Linked DNA regions of Homo sapiens: region 1 is linked to region 2. The links are contacts of gene promoters, found by promoter capture Hi-C in blood cells and fetal thymus (Javierre and others, 2016). All regions are on one chromosome and are shown on one strand. Each heading gives the region's core, a stretch centred on a gene start or on the middle of the fragment in contact. The rest is flanking DNA. Distances are from core to core; before and after follow the strand shown.

The links. The method cuts DNA at HindIII sites, captures the fragments that hold promoters and counts their contacts. A CHiCAGO score of 5 or more calls a contact.
Region 1: a contact is called between a fragment that was not itself captured here and the fragment with the promoter of RPL32 in region 2, in 3 of 17 cell types (total B cells, total CD8 T cells and naive B cells). The highest score is 8.5, in total B cells.

What each region holds. Positions count from the first base shown.
Region 1 is chr3:13,462,933-13,468,975 of GRCh38, reverse strand. No RefSeq gene overlaps it. Among named protein-coding and RNA genes, the nearest start is that of HDAC11-AS1, 14 kb to the left of the region's middle. The HindIII fragment of the contact is 155 bases long and covers 1,582-1,736 here.
Region 2 is chr3:12,839,098-12,845,548 of GRCh38, reverse strand. RPL32 (ribosomal protein L32) reads left to right here and starts at 3,984. Exons shown (of 4, transcript NM_000994.4): 1 at 3,984-4,055; 2 at 5,307-5,407; 3 at 6,019-6,200. The coding sequence starts at 5,312. SNORA7A (small nucleolar RNA, H/ACA box 7A) reads left to right here and starts at 5,099; the gene lies at 5,099-5,237. RefSeq lists enhancers at 3,406-3,655, 3,749-4,685, 4,686-5,624. The HindIII fragment of the contact is 26,906 bases long and covers 1-6,451 here.

The DNA of each region.
Region 1 (6,043 bases), core at 410-2,909, 630 kb before region 2:
CACTTAGCATAATGTCCTCAAGATTCATCCATGTCGTAGCTTAGCTCAGAATTCCTTTCCCTTTTAAGGCTAAGTAATATTCCATCATATGAACAGAGTACATTTTCTGTATTCATTCATCTGTCAATAGACATTTAAGTTCTTTCCACCTCTTGGCTATTGTGAATAATGCTGCTATGAACATGTACGTGCAAATATCCATTGGAGTCTCTGCTTTCACTTCTTTTGGACATGTACCCAGAAGTGGGATTGCTGGATCATATGGCAATTCTATCTTTAATTTTTTTAGGAACCATCATACTGTTTTCCACAGCAATTATACCATTTTGCGTTCCCACATCAGAACAAGGGTTCTATTTCTTCGCATTCTTGCCAAGAGCTGTTATTTTCTTTTTTTTTTTTTCAATAGTGGCAATCCTAATAGTGTGACATTTCACTTCCTAATAGAAGTGACATTTCACTGTGGGTTTTTTTTAATTTTTTATTATTATAAATATATTTTTGAGACAGGGTCTCACTGTGTCACCCAGGCTGGAGTGCAATGCAGTGTCTCTATCCCAGCTAACTGCAACCTCCACCTCTCGGGTTCAAGTGATTGTCCCACCTCAGCCTCCCCAGTAGCTGGGATTACAGGCGTGTGCCACCACTTCCGGCTAATTTTTGTATTTTTTGGTAGAGACGGGGTTTCACCATATTGGCCCAGCTGATCTCTAACTCCTGACCTCAGGGGATCAGCCCGCCTCAGCCTCCCAAAGTATTGGGATTACAGGCATGAGCCACCACGCCCAGCCTTCATTGTGGTTTTGATTTGCACTTCCCTACTAGTTAGTGGTGCTGAGCACCTTTTCGTGTGCTTGTTGGTATTTGTATATCTTCTCTGGAGAAATGTCTATTCAAGACCCTTATTCATTTTTTATTGTGTTGTTGTTAAGTTTTAGGACTTCTTTATATATTCTGGTTTTTGGCCTCTTGTCATATATATGATTTGTAAATATTTTCTCCTATTCTGTAGGTCGCCTTTTCACTCTGTTGGTTTTTTTGAGGTGAAGAAATGTTTAAGTTTGATGTAATTCCATTTGTCTATTATTGCTTTTGCTGTCTATCCTTTTGGTATCCTATCCAAGAAATTATTGCCAAACCCAATGTCATGAAGATTTTCCCCTGTGTTTTCTTCTAAGGGTTTTATAGTTTTAGCTCTTACATTTAGGTGTTTCATCCGTGTTAGCGTGTGCTTTCATTATTTAAATACACTCTGCATGGTCAAGCAGTCTGTAGTCTGCAGGGAAATCATTGAGACTCAAACTCGGCCAAGGTTAGGCCTAGACATGGTTCTCTTCAGGTTATTGGATGATGGGGCTCATGAAGCTTTAGTGGGCTCTGGGCTCCTTCCCAGCACTCGAGGACATGCCCACTGGTCCCCATCTTACAACATTCATTGTCCTTATCATCTTTGATGTCACCAGCCTCTCATCACACAGGTTTGCATCATATTGATATCAGTGATGAGGCCCATCTGCTCAAATGCTGCCGGGAAGATGGGCCAGGAGTGATGCTCTTTTTTAAGCTGAGAAAAATAAAGCTTCCAGGCATTCTCACGTAGCAAGCATGGCTCTAAATGCAGAACCATTTCCACTACACTGAAGTTATTTCTCTCAGAAAAAAAAATTTTTAATGGATGACATGTAAGGACCCATCCTGGGAAAATTGAGCTGAAAGGAAGAATGTAAGAGAAAGCTTAAATCATTGCATATAAAAGGTCTTCCTATCTATTTTGTTTGTAGAAGCAACAAAACTGGAATGGACCCAAATGCCAAAGGATAGGGAAATAGTTAAGCCAACAAGTAGAGTACTTTGCAGTTAAGAGAAGTTAATTCCCGGATGCCTCCGAGGAAAAGGAGAAATGTGTATCTTAACCAAGAAAACTAAGTGGAGCCCAGGTTTATAAGTAAACACTGACCCTTGTTACTTATAAAAGCCACACATAGCATGCTGGTCAACTGCCCACAGGCACTCGGGTCCACTTCTGCCCTGCCCTTGTCCTCTGGCTTCTTATTCAGTCAGTGGCCACTGGTGCTGGAACGCTAGAGGGTGAGAAGAGAGGATAAAGCAGGGCATTTCTCCCCTGGGTGCCCTTTGACATCTCCAGCAGAGGGAGGGTCTTCTCCTCTGTGGCTTCAGCTCTGCCTTGTCCCCCTGGGAACTTCGGTGGTCCCATCGCCTACCAGAAAGACCCTTCCTACGGCTCTAGCTCCTACGGGGCACCCCAACTCCTGGGTCACACCTATTACCTTCTCTTTATTCCTAGGAATGGGAGTGGCCTCCTGCTGAACTAATCCCTCTAACCTCACTGCCACTGCCTCCACCACCAGAGCAACCAATTCCCTGTATTAAATTCCATGAGAGAGCTTTGTGTTTTCCTGGCTGGCTCCAGGCTGATACTTGCACTAAGGGATAAAAATAAGAAGTGTGTTTGTTTGTTTGTTTTGAGACAGAGTCTTGCTCTGTTTCCCAGGCTGGAGTGCAGTGGCTTACTGCAACCTCCGCCTCCCGGGTTTAAGCAATTCTCCTGTCTCCACCTCCTGAGTAGCAGGGACTACAGGTGCGTGCCACCATGCCCAGCTAATTTTTGTATTTTTAGTAGAGATGGAGTTTTGCCATGTTGGCCAGGCTGGACTTGAACTCCTGACCTCAGGTGATCTGCCCACCTCAGCCTCCCAAAGTGCTGGAATGAGCCACTGTGCCAGGCTGCATCCTCGGCAGATGGGAATGTGATCTCCGTGACAACCAGCAAAGACCACTCCTGAGGCCCAGATGGTACCGAGGATACCTCAGTGGAGGCTACTGACCCCTCCCACCCATGACTTAGCACCACATTTAATCCCTGGAGAGTGTAGGCGCATCCTAGAAATAGGAAGAAGGGAAATATTGAGTTGCCACCCTACAGGAATAAGATCTGGAAAGAGAAATTAAGATAGGATATAAAAAATAAAGAAAGGTACGATTTGTGCGCAAATTAGTTTATAGACTAGAATTCAAATCCACTACAACTGAGAGAATAATTGGCCTTCAGTGGAATGCAAAGAGGGTGATAAAGACACTAGAATGCAGTGGAAAATGTTCCAGCATTGGAGGGAAAGAATCCTCCCACTCCCTGGAATTGCCCACTTTGAAGTCAGCAGGGTCCTTCAATATTAAGCAGCATGACCCCTCATTTCATAGTCAAAAAAAACAGATGTCCAGGGAGGCTCAATAGCTGGCCTGAGATCTCACAGTCAGCTAATGTGGGGAGCAAGAACCCGAGCCTGTGGTTTTCTCTGCTACACTTGGGTGGCTGCTGGGTCTTGCTGCAAAGACCCAAATTGCTTCTTAATTGGAGTCTCCTGCTTAATTAGCTGCTTCCTGAGCAGCCCGTGCTCCCTGTCTGGAAATCTCAATCAACACCATCTTCTCTAAATTGCTGTGACCTCGCTCTTCTCATCTCTTCCATGCAGGGATTCACTTCTTGGTTTTGCCCAGTGGGACAGCTGGGGAGAGGATGGGCCATGTGGACAGCCTCTGCAGAGAGAAAGCAGCTGTTCTTACCACCATGCCTGCTCCAGGGACTTCAGAGGGCTTCACAACCACCCCAAGAGGGTTGGGACTGGGGAACAGGAAGACTGGGTCCAATCCTGGATTTGCCACTAACTCCCCGTGTGATCTTGGGAAACCTCTGTCACTCTAGGGGCTTCAGTGACCATTAAATTACGGTTTCTCCTCTAAATTAGGGTCACTAGGCTTAGCAAATAAAAATGCAAGATACTGAGTTACATTTGAATTTCAGTAAGCAACACCATTTTTTAGTATAAGTGTGTCCCATGCAGTAAGTGTATTTGAGATATACTTATACCAAAAATTTTTTTTGGTATCTGAAATTCAAATTTAACTAGGCATCCTGTATTTTATCTGACAATCCTACCCCACATGGAAAAATTCTGTTCCATCTGCTGTGCGGAGGCAGCCTGATGAAGCATACACAGCACAGCTTGAGGGTGAGGCAGTCCTGAGTGTGAATCCCAGAACTGCCACCCAGCCTGTGTGATCTTGGGCAAGTCAGTTCACCTCTCTGAACCTCAGTTGCCCAGAGTAGAAAATGGATATATTAATCACTGACTGGTCATCTCTCAGGACTAATTAGTTCTCTCTCAAGACTAGCGAAAGAGACCGGAGGCAGTGGCTCACCCTGTAATCCCAATACTTTGGGAGGCAGAGGCAGGAGGATTGCTTGAGCCTAGGAGTTTGAGGCCAGCCTGGACAGCATGGGGATACCCCGTCTCTACCAAAAAATACAAAAATTAGCCAGGCATGGTGGCACAGGCCTGTAGTCCCAGCTATATTCAGGAGGCCGAGGTGGAAGGATCCCTTGAGCCCAGGAGGGCAAGGCTGCAGTGAGCCGTGATCATGCCATTGCACTCCAGACCCTGTCTCAAAAAAAAGATTAGTGAAAGGACATAATTTAAATCCCTTTATAGACTGCAAAGTTTGCAATAAACTCGAACATTTATTAAGAACCTGCTATAAGCAGGTTATACAACACATTCTACCAAATATTATGGGAAATAGAGATAACAGTGCAATTGGAAAGACATTTGTAAGAAAAGCCCAAGGCTATCTATTTTTCACAGAATCCTTCCATAAAGTGAAATCCCATCAAGAATCTGAATTTGGACTGCTACGAACTGATAAGGAATTTGATGCTTCAGGAAAAAAATTTGTGCAGTCTTGGGAAACAGTCATGCCTGGGCTTGACGTCAGAAAGAGCTGGAGCGATTCCCTTAGACCGACTGGACTTTCACGTTCCCACCGACAGGTATCCCATTTGGGAGGAGACCTGGCTGATCTAGGGTGATCAAAGTCATCAGCTTAGGTGGAATCTTTCTCACCTTGACTTGGGCCTTGGAGATGCCTCTGCGGTCAGGGATGAGCAGACTTCATTTGGTTCCCACCATCCAGAACCCTAGAATGGTGGGAGTCGGTGGAATTGCCAGCCCAGCACCTGTCCTCAGGGAACCAGCTGTTCCCCTCAATCCAGGAGGTTCTCCAGGGGTGGGCATTTAATCCACACGTGGCCACCACAGAGAGTCAGAGACAGGCATGTGAGGAAGACAGGGTCCCAGCATTGTTTGAGCTGGGCCTGAAGCCAGTTCTCCGAGTCAGTAAACTCTGTACCAGTTTGAGCTGGATTTTCTGTCACTTGCCACTGATGGACACATTACTTCAATATGCTCCCTGCTTGGCTAGCCCCAAAGAGAGAAAACCGCATGAGTTAAAGTATGCAGGGAAAGCTTCAAACAGAGAGAAAAGCCACCCAGGGGCTCAGCCCAACGTTTGCGAGGGATTCATGCACGATTTTCACACAATCAGCACCTACTCTTGGTGATGACGGGCAGTCTCCACCTATGTTTAGGACCCAAAAGCCACACTTTTTTGGGCAACTTGAGTGGGGCTTTAGTGGATGTGCTGTCTTCCATGTCCTCCCCTCCTCACCAAGCTCACCCCTCATGATAGCACTAGAGGCTCATCCTAAGTTAGCACCCCCCAACCCAGCTCTCTAGTCCAGAGCATCCCCACCACTATATACATCAGCCACACTCTCTAATCCCCAAGAAACAGGCTGTGCTTCCAGCCTCCCCACCTGGCCTCCTCCTATTACCTCTGCCTGACATCCTCTCTGTGCTGTTCACCCCCATCTTGAATTTGTTAAATATCTACAGGAACAAAGCTCCTGGTCGCCCCTCAGAACCATGTCCCTGTTTGCCCTCCCCTGATTGGCGCTTATCCCACTCCGACAGCCTCCAAGAGCCCTTGGTCTGAATCTCAAATGGAGGGTATTCTGCCATGTCTTGGGTGGGAGGGCCCCAGCCTGAGTCTAAGCTGAGTTTGCCCCTGGGGAGCAGAGCATCTGATGAGCCAACAGGGCTGGGAAGAGGTCACTACGTGGCCATTCTCTACTCAAAGCTAAATATAGGCTCTCTCTGAGCTTCAGTTTCCACATTTATAAATAGCA
Region 2 (6,451 bases), core at 2,735-5,234:
TGACTTCTTAGAACTAAATCAAATGGAAGCACTTCAGCAATGACAGAAATGTGAATGGCTTTGTAACTTCACTTCATCCTCTCCATTTACACCATTTACACTTTGTAACTTAACATTCATCTTCTCCATTTCCGTAGCCCACACACTCCAAGTAACATCCTCTCCATTTACACTTTGTAACTTCACATTCATCCTCAGTATTCACACAGATCACACACGCCAAGTAACATCATCTTCATTTATATAGGATGCATTCTGAGTAAATGACTGCAACTTCACTCCATTCTCATTTACACAGAGGTACACCAAGTAACCAAAGAGAAACCTCTAGAGTATTGAAACCCCAGAAAACTCTGTAATGGGGACTCTTGAGCCCTGATGCTCAGGCCTGCTTCCAACACTGTGGAGTGTACCTTTGTTTTTAATAAATCTCTGCTTTTGCTTTCCTTGCTTTGTTTGTGCATCTTGTCCAATTCTTTGTTCAAGACGCCAAGAACCTGGACACCTTCCACCAGTAACCTCTGCCTGTTACTCAGTTCCAAAGTCGCTTCTACATTTTCAGGTATCTTTACAGCAGCCCCTCACTCCAGGTACCAATTCACTGTATTAGTCTGTTCTCATAATGCTAATAAAGACATACCCGAGACGGGATAATTTATAAAGGAAAGAGGCTATTGACTCACAGTTCCATATGGCTGTTTACAATTCATAATCATGGCGGAAGGCAAAGGAGGAGCAAAGTCAGGTCTTACACAGCAGCAGGCAAGAAGAGTGTGCGCAGAGGAACTCCCCTTTATAAAACCATCAGATGTTGTGAGACTTATTTACTACCAAGAGAACAGTATGGGGAAAACTGCCCCCATGATTGGATTATCTCCACCTGGCCCTGCCCTTGACACTTGGGGTTTATTACAATTCATAATGAGATTTAGGTGGGGACACAGCCAAACCATATCACCAGGTAACCCTTTCTAATGACTGAGGCAGCTCCCTACTCCAGGTCCCTCGCACTATCGATTTTGCTGCCGAGAACAAGGAGGAGCCTAGTAAGGGGACCGAATCTGCCTGTAACATTGGGAAACCCTGCAGTGGCCAAGATAACCAGTCAGGAGGGGCTCCAGCTTTGGGGGGAACTTCATTCCAGAAAACCAGCCCTGACCACCTACAAAGCCCTAAAGAGGCAAAGAATGGTGCAAGCCCAGCAGAAAGCCAGCCAGGCCCTGGGCATGGAGTCTTCGAGCTGTCTTCTCTGGTGACATGCTTCCTCAGGCCACAAGGCTGAATGATACGTAAACGCCCATGCCCCCAAAGATCCAAGCACTTCCCGTTCTGCTGGCTCTTCCGGCATTCCTGTGAAGTGAGCAGAAGGCCAGGTTTGCCCGTCTCTTTTCCCCTTTCAGATGACAAAACTGATGGTTTCCTTCCCGCTCTTTAGGAGCGCATAGACACAGGCAGGTCTGCAGCAGGTGAAATTTACTCAAGCTAGAGTGCAGTGGTGCCATCATAGCTCACTGAAGCCTCCAATTCCTGGCTCAAGCAATCCTCCTGCCCTTGCCTCCCAAGTAACTGGGACTGCAAAGTGAGTGCCACCAAATCCAGCTATTTTTTTTTTTTAATATATAAATGAGGTCTTGGTTTGTTTTCCAGGCTGCTCTTGAATGCCTGGCCTCAAGCAATCCTCCTGCCCTTGCCTCCCAAGTAACTGGGACTGCAAAGTGAGTGCCACCAAATCCAGCTATTTTTTTTTTAATATATAAATGAGGTCTTGGTTTGTTTTCCAGGCTGCTCTTGAATGCCTGGCCTCAAGCAATCCTCCTGCCTTGGCCTCCCAGAGTGCTGGGATTACAGGTGTGAGCCACCATATCCAGCCCAGCTCTAGACTTTTAGAGAAATTTTAATAGTATTTTACACCACAGTGATTCCTTTTTTTAAAAAAAATTTATGTCCCTAGCATGTACAGTAAACACTAAAGTGATTCCTAAAGAATTCTTCCCTTTTATCACTTCCAGTAGGCCTCTGTGAAACCAAATCTACCTCCGCTTACAAGAAAGATGCTGGGCTGGCCTTCTCTCAAAGTCTTTCCAAACTTTTCTTGGCATTGACTTAGACACCCTAGGAATCTAACTTGAGAAAATGTTTTCATTAAAAAAAATCTCAGGAAGTAAAACCTCCTGAATGATTACTGAGTTGACATAAATCTTATGTGTATATTCTTATCAGAAAAAAAGTATCTTCATTTTGTGGGACACCAATTCATGTATTATTATTATTTTGAGACAAAGTTTCGCTCTTGTTGCCCAGGCTGGAGTGCAATGGCGCGATCTCCACTTACTGCAACCTCCACCTCCTGAGTTCAAGTGATTCTCGTGCCTCAGCCTCCCTAGTAGCTGGAACTACAGGCATGTGCCACCACACCCAGCTAATTTTTTGTAACTTTAGTAGAGATGGGGTTTCACCATGTTGGCCAGGATGGACTCGAACTCCTGACCACAGGTGATCTGCCCACCTCAGCTTCCCAAAGTGCTGGGATTACAGGCATGAGCCACCGCGCCCAGTCGCTGGGTCTTACAGTAACTTTATGTTTAACATTTTGAGGAAATGCTATTCTTTTCCAAAGTGACTGCACCATTTCATATTTGCACTAGCACTGTACGGACATTCCCATTTCTCTGTCCTAGTGAGTGTGAAATGGTATCTCACTGCAGTTCCAGTTTGTATTTCCCTGATGGCTAATGATGTGGATCATTTCATGTGTTCATTGGCCACAGAGAAATGTCTATTTGGATTCTTTACCCATTTTTCAATTGGGTTATTTGTCTTTATAGGTTTGTTGTTGTTGAGACAGAGTCTTGCTCTGTCACTCAGGCTGGAGTGCAGTGGCATTATCACAGCTAACTGCAGTCTAGAACTGCTGGGCTCACGTGATCATCCCAGCTCAGCCTCTCGAGTAACTGGGACTACAGGCATGCGCCACCAGCCCCAGCTAATTATTTTATTTTTTGTAGAGACAGGGTCTTACTATGTTGCCTAGGCCGGTCTTGAACTCCTGGGCTCAAGCAAATCTCCCACCTCAGACTCCCAAAGTATTGGAATTATAGGTGTGAACCATAGTGCTCAGCCAATTTGCACAATAATCTTAAATACAAAAGCTAAGCAAAACAAATCAAGAGCATCTTTAAAAACTAGGCAGTCTGGGAGGCAGGGGCTGCCGTGAGCCGTGAGATGGCACCTTTGCATTCCAGCCTAGGTGACAGAGGGAGGCCCTGTCTAAAAAAAACCAAAAACCAAAAAACAAAACAAAACAAAAAACATCTAGGCAGTAGCTCGTGCCCGTAATCCCAGCTACTCAGGAGGCTGAGGCGAGAGAATCGTTTGAGCCCAGGAGTTCAAGACCAGCCTGGGCAACAGAGTGAGACCCCATTTCTAAAAAATGAACAAAGAAAAACTAGGCAGTTTCGCCCAGTGGTTAGAAGCGTGGAGTTTGGAGTCAAGTCTCCAAATTTCATCTTCCACATATGCAAAATGGAGACAATAATAGGGGTACGTTATAGAATTGTGGTAGGCATAGTGAACTCCATCGCATGTTAGCTGTTTTCGTTACTATTTACTGTCTAAATTCGGTGATGAAATTATTAGGAAGTCTCTGTCTTGTTCTCTTCTGACCACTAAGAGGCGCACTTCGGAGTAGAAGAAACGCGGGCGGAAATAGCCCAAAAGCGGATTGGCTTCGACTTCTGGCGGAAGTAAATTCCTCCCTCCACCAGGTCTTATTAGCTCAGAAAGAATTCCAAATTTCTACGTAGTCCCAAGGATAGGTAGAATACATTTCTCAGTCCTATTCCTAGTTATTATTGTCTATTAAAACATGTATACTCAGAATTTTTGCGGCATTATTTTTTGACGTGTCTTTATTTTATTTAAAAGAGCCGGAGCCGGAAGTGCTTGCCTTTTTCCCTGCTAGGACCCAGGGGTTACGACCCATCAGCCCTTGCGCGCCACCGTCCCTTCTCTCTTCCTCGGCGCTGCCTACGGAGGTGGCAGCCATCTCCTTCTCGGTAAGTGTTAATCCGTGGCAATCCGCATTCCTGCGGGATTCATCTGGCCCCGTCGCCCAGTGGTGCGGAGGCCTCCCCTTCAGCGCGGTAGTGTCTGTGGGTATTGTTATTGTCAGCTTACTGGAGCGTGTACAGGAACAGAACGAAGCCGCCGAGTTGATAGGGCTTTGCGTCCCAGAGCCTCCTGCCCTCCGCCTGTATTCAGAGCTGCGGGCTGCTTGTTTGTTCCTTGGCGGTGGAGGGTGCTAGTTGAGGCCAGACTTCGGGGTCTCCTGGGGGCCGTGGGACGACCAGGGGTGGCCCAGCTTGACAGCTTTCAGCTGGGATCTGTGGATCCCAGCGCTCACCAATGTCGGCCCACGTGTATTCGTTCATGCCATGGCCGGCTTCTTCCGCTGCAGTCTCTGGCCCGAGGGCTGCTGCTGCGGGACCGCCAAGGAAAGACGAGCTGTAGGTCGGCTGGTCCAGCTGCAGGCAGAAATTCTGGTAGTATCTCTGGGAATATGAAGATGCAACTGCCCCCACCTTGCCTTCGAGGATATCATGGGCCAGAAGGCAGAGTCGTTTTGAATACGTGGTTCATTGAGTACCCACTCTGGGCCAGTTGATGGCTGCGAAGAGAGCAGAAGGGGTGCTGCTGTAGGAAATCAATGGCTCGGAAGACCACACTGAGGAAGGTGTGAGTTGATACTGGAAGATCTCCAGGTTTGAGGCATCTTCAGAGGTATATGGTGGTTTTGTGTGTGTTGAGGGTGTGGTAGCGCAGCAGCTCCCTAGGGAATTAGAAGGTTTTATTGAACATTTACCCTGTGACAGGCACTGCAGGCATTCAGCGCGCAGTGTCATCTTCATTTTACAGGTGAGGAAAAGACTCAGGTTCAAGTAGATGGTCAAGGCCAGTACTACCGGAAGGACCATCTGGGGGTTCGGACACTGGTGGGGTGGGATTTGCTGCCCCTTGCAAATTGAGAGTGTCTTGGGGTCAGTTTTGATTTGCTCAGCTGTTGGCATTCTTTGGGCTCTGAGTGGGTGAGGTGACCCTTGACCTCCTGGGATCGCATCTGGAGAGTGCCTAGTATTCTGCCAGCTTCGGAAAGGGAGGGAAAGCAAGCCTGGCAGAGGCACCCATTCCATTCCCAGCTTGCTCCGTAGCTGGCGATTGGAAGACACTCTGCGACAGTGTTCAGTCCCTGGGCAGGAAAGCCTCCTTCCAGGATTCTTCCTCACCTGGGGCCGCTTCTTCCCCAAAAGGCATCATGGCCGCCCTCAGACCCCTTGTGAAGCCCAAGATCGTCAAAAAGAGAACCAAGAAGTTCATCCGGCACCAGTCAGACCGATATGTCAAAATTAAGGTATGTGGTCCTGGGATGGAAATGGGTGTGGGGTGAAGAAAAGAGTTTCCAACAGTTTCTGACATCACCTAGTCAGGATTATCTTTGACCGATGAACTGGCTTGTGGAAGAGCTTTCTGTAGAAATACAGGTCTCCCCCAGTGTGCCCTAGTGCTGGTACTTATGTCTCTTGATGTGTGAAGCGAAACTTTAATGAAAAGGGACATTTGGCCGTTTTGATGTGTTCAGAGGGCTTTGCATTTGTGTCCTGTATTTTGGGTTGCCTTGTGACAGCAGGATCCCTATTTTATAGACAAGAAAACTCAGGTGCTGAGAGCAGTGTCTGCAGCTGTGCTTGCCATCTCAGTATCTACACAGTCCCCTCGCATCCCATTGGTGCCTCCTCCATTGCTTGGGAGTGGCAATGGTGGGGGTGCCTTCATCCCTAGTGGCTAAAGCCACGAGCTCCTGGTTTTTCCCACCAAAAAAGTAAGGAAATAGTGAAGTCCTGTTACCAAAGGCAACTACTGTGTGGCATACTTCCTTTTCATTTGGTCCTTTTTTTCCCTCCCCAAAAGGAAGAGTTCGCACTCTGCACAGACGCTAACCCACCTGTGTATTATTTCCTTCAGCGTAACTGGCGGAAACCCAGAGGCATTGACAACAGGGTTCGTAGAAGATTCAAGGGCCAGATCTTGATGCCCAACATTGGTTATGGAAGCAACAAAAAAACAAAGCACATGCTGCCCAGTGGCTTCCGGAAGTTCCTGGTCCACAACGTCAAGGAGCTGGAAGTGCTGCTGATGTGCAACAAGTGAGTTGGGTCCCACCTCTAGTTTTCAGTGATCAGAAGTTTGCATCTGTGTGAGCACTTCTGGCAGGAACTCTACAAACTCTTGGGATGCATTTTGGCGGGGGGTGTTGTACATTCTCTGAGGGAATCAGAAGTTGTTCCTTGCAGGATTTTAGAGAATGCTTGTTGGGGAATTCAAGGTGTTTCCTTTGCTGAAGGAGGTGACTTGGTCTTCTAAGTGTAGAGACCCAAGACCAGGAAAAGACTGCTTT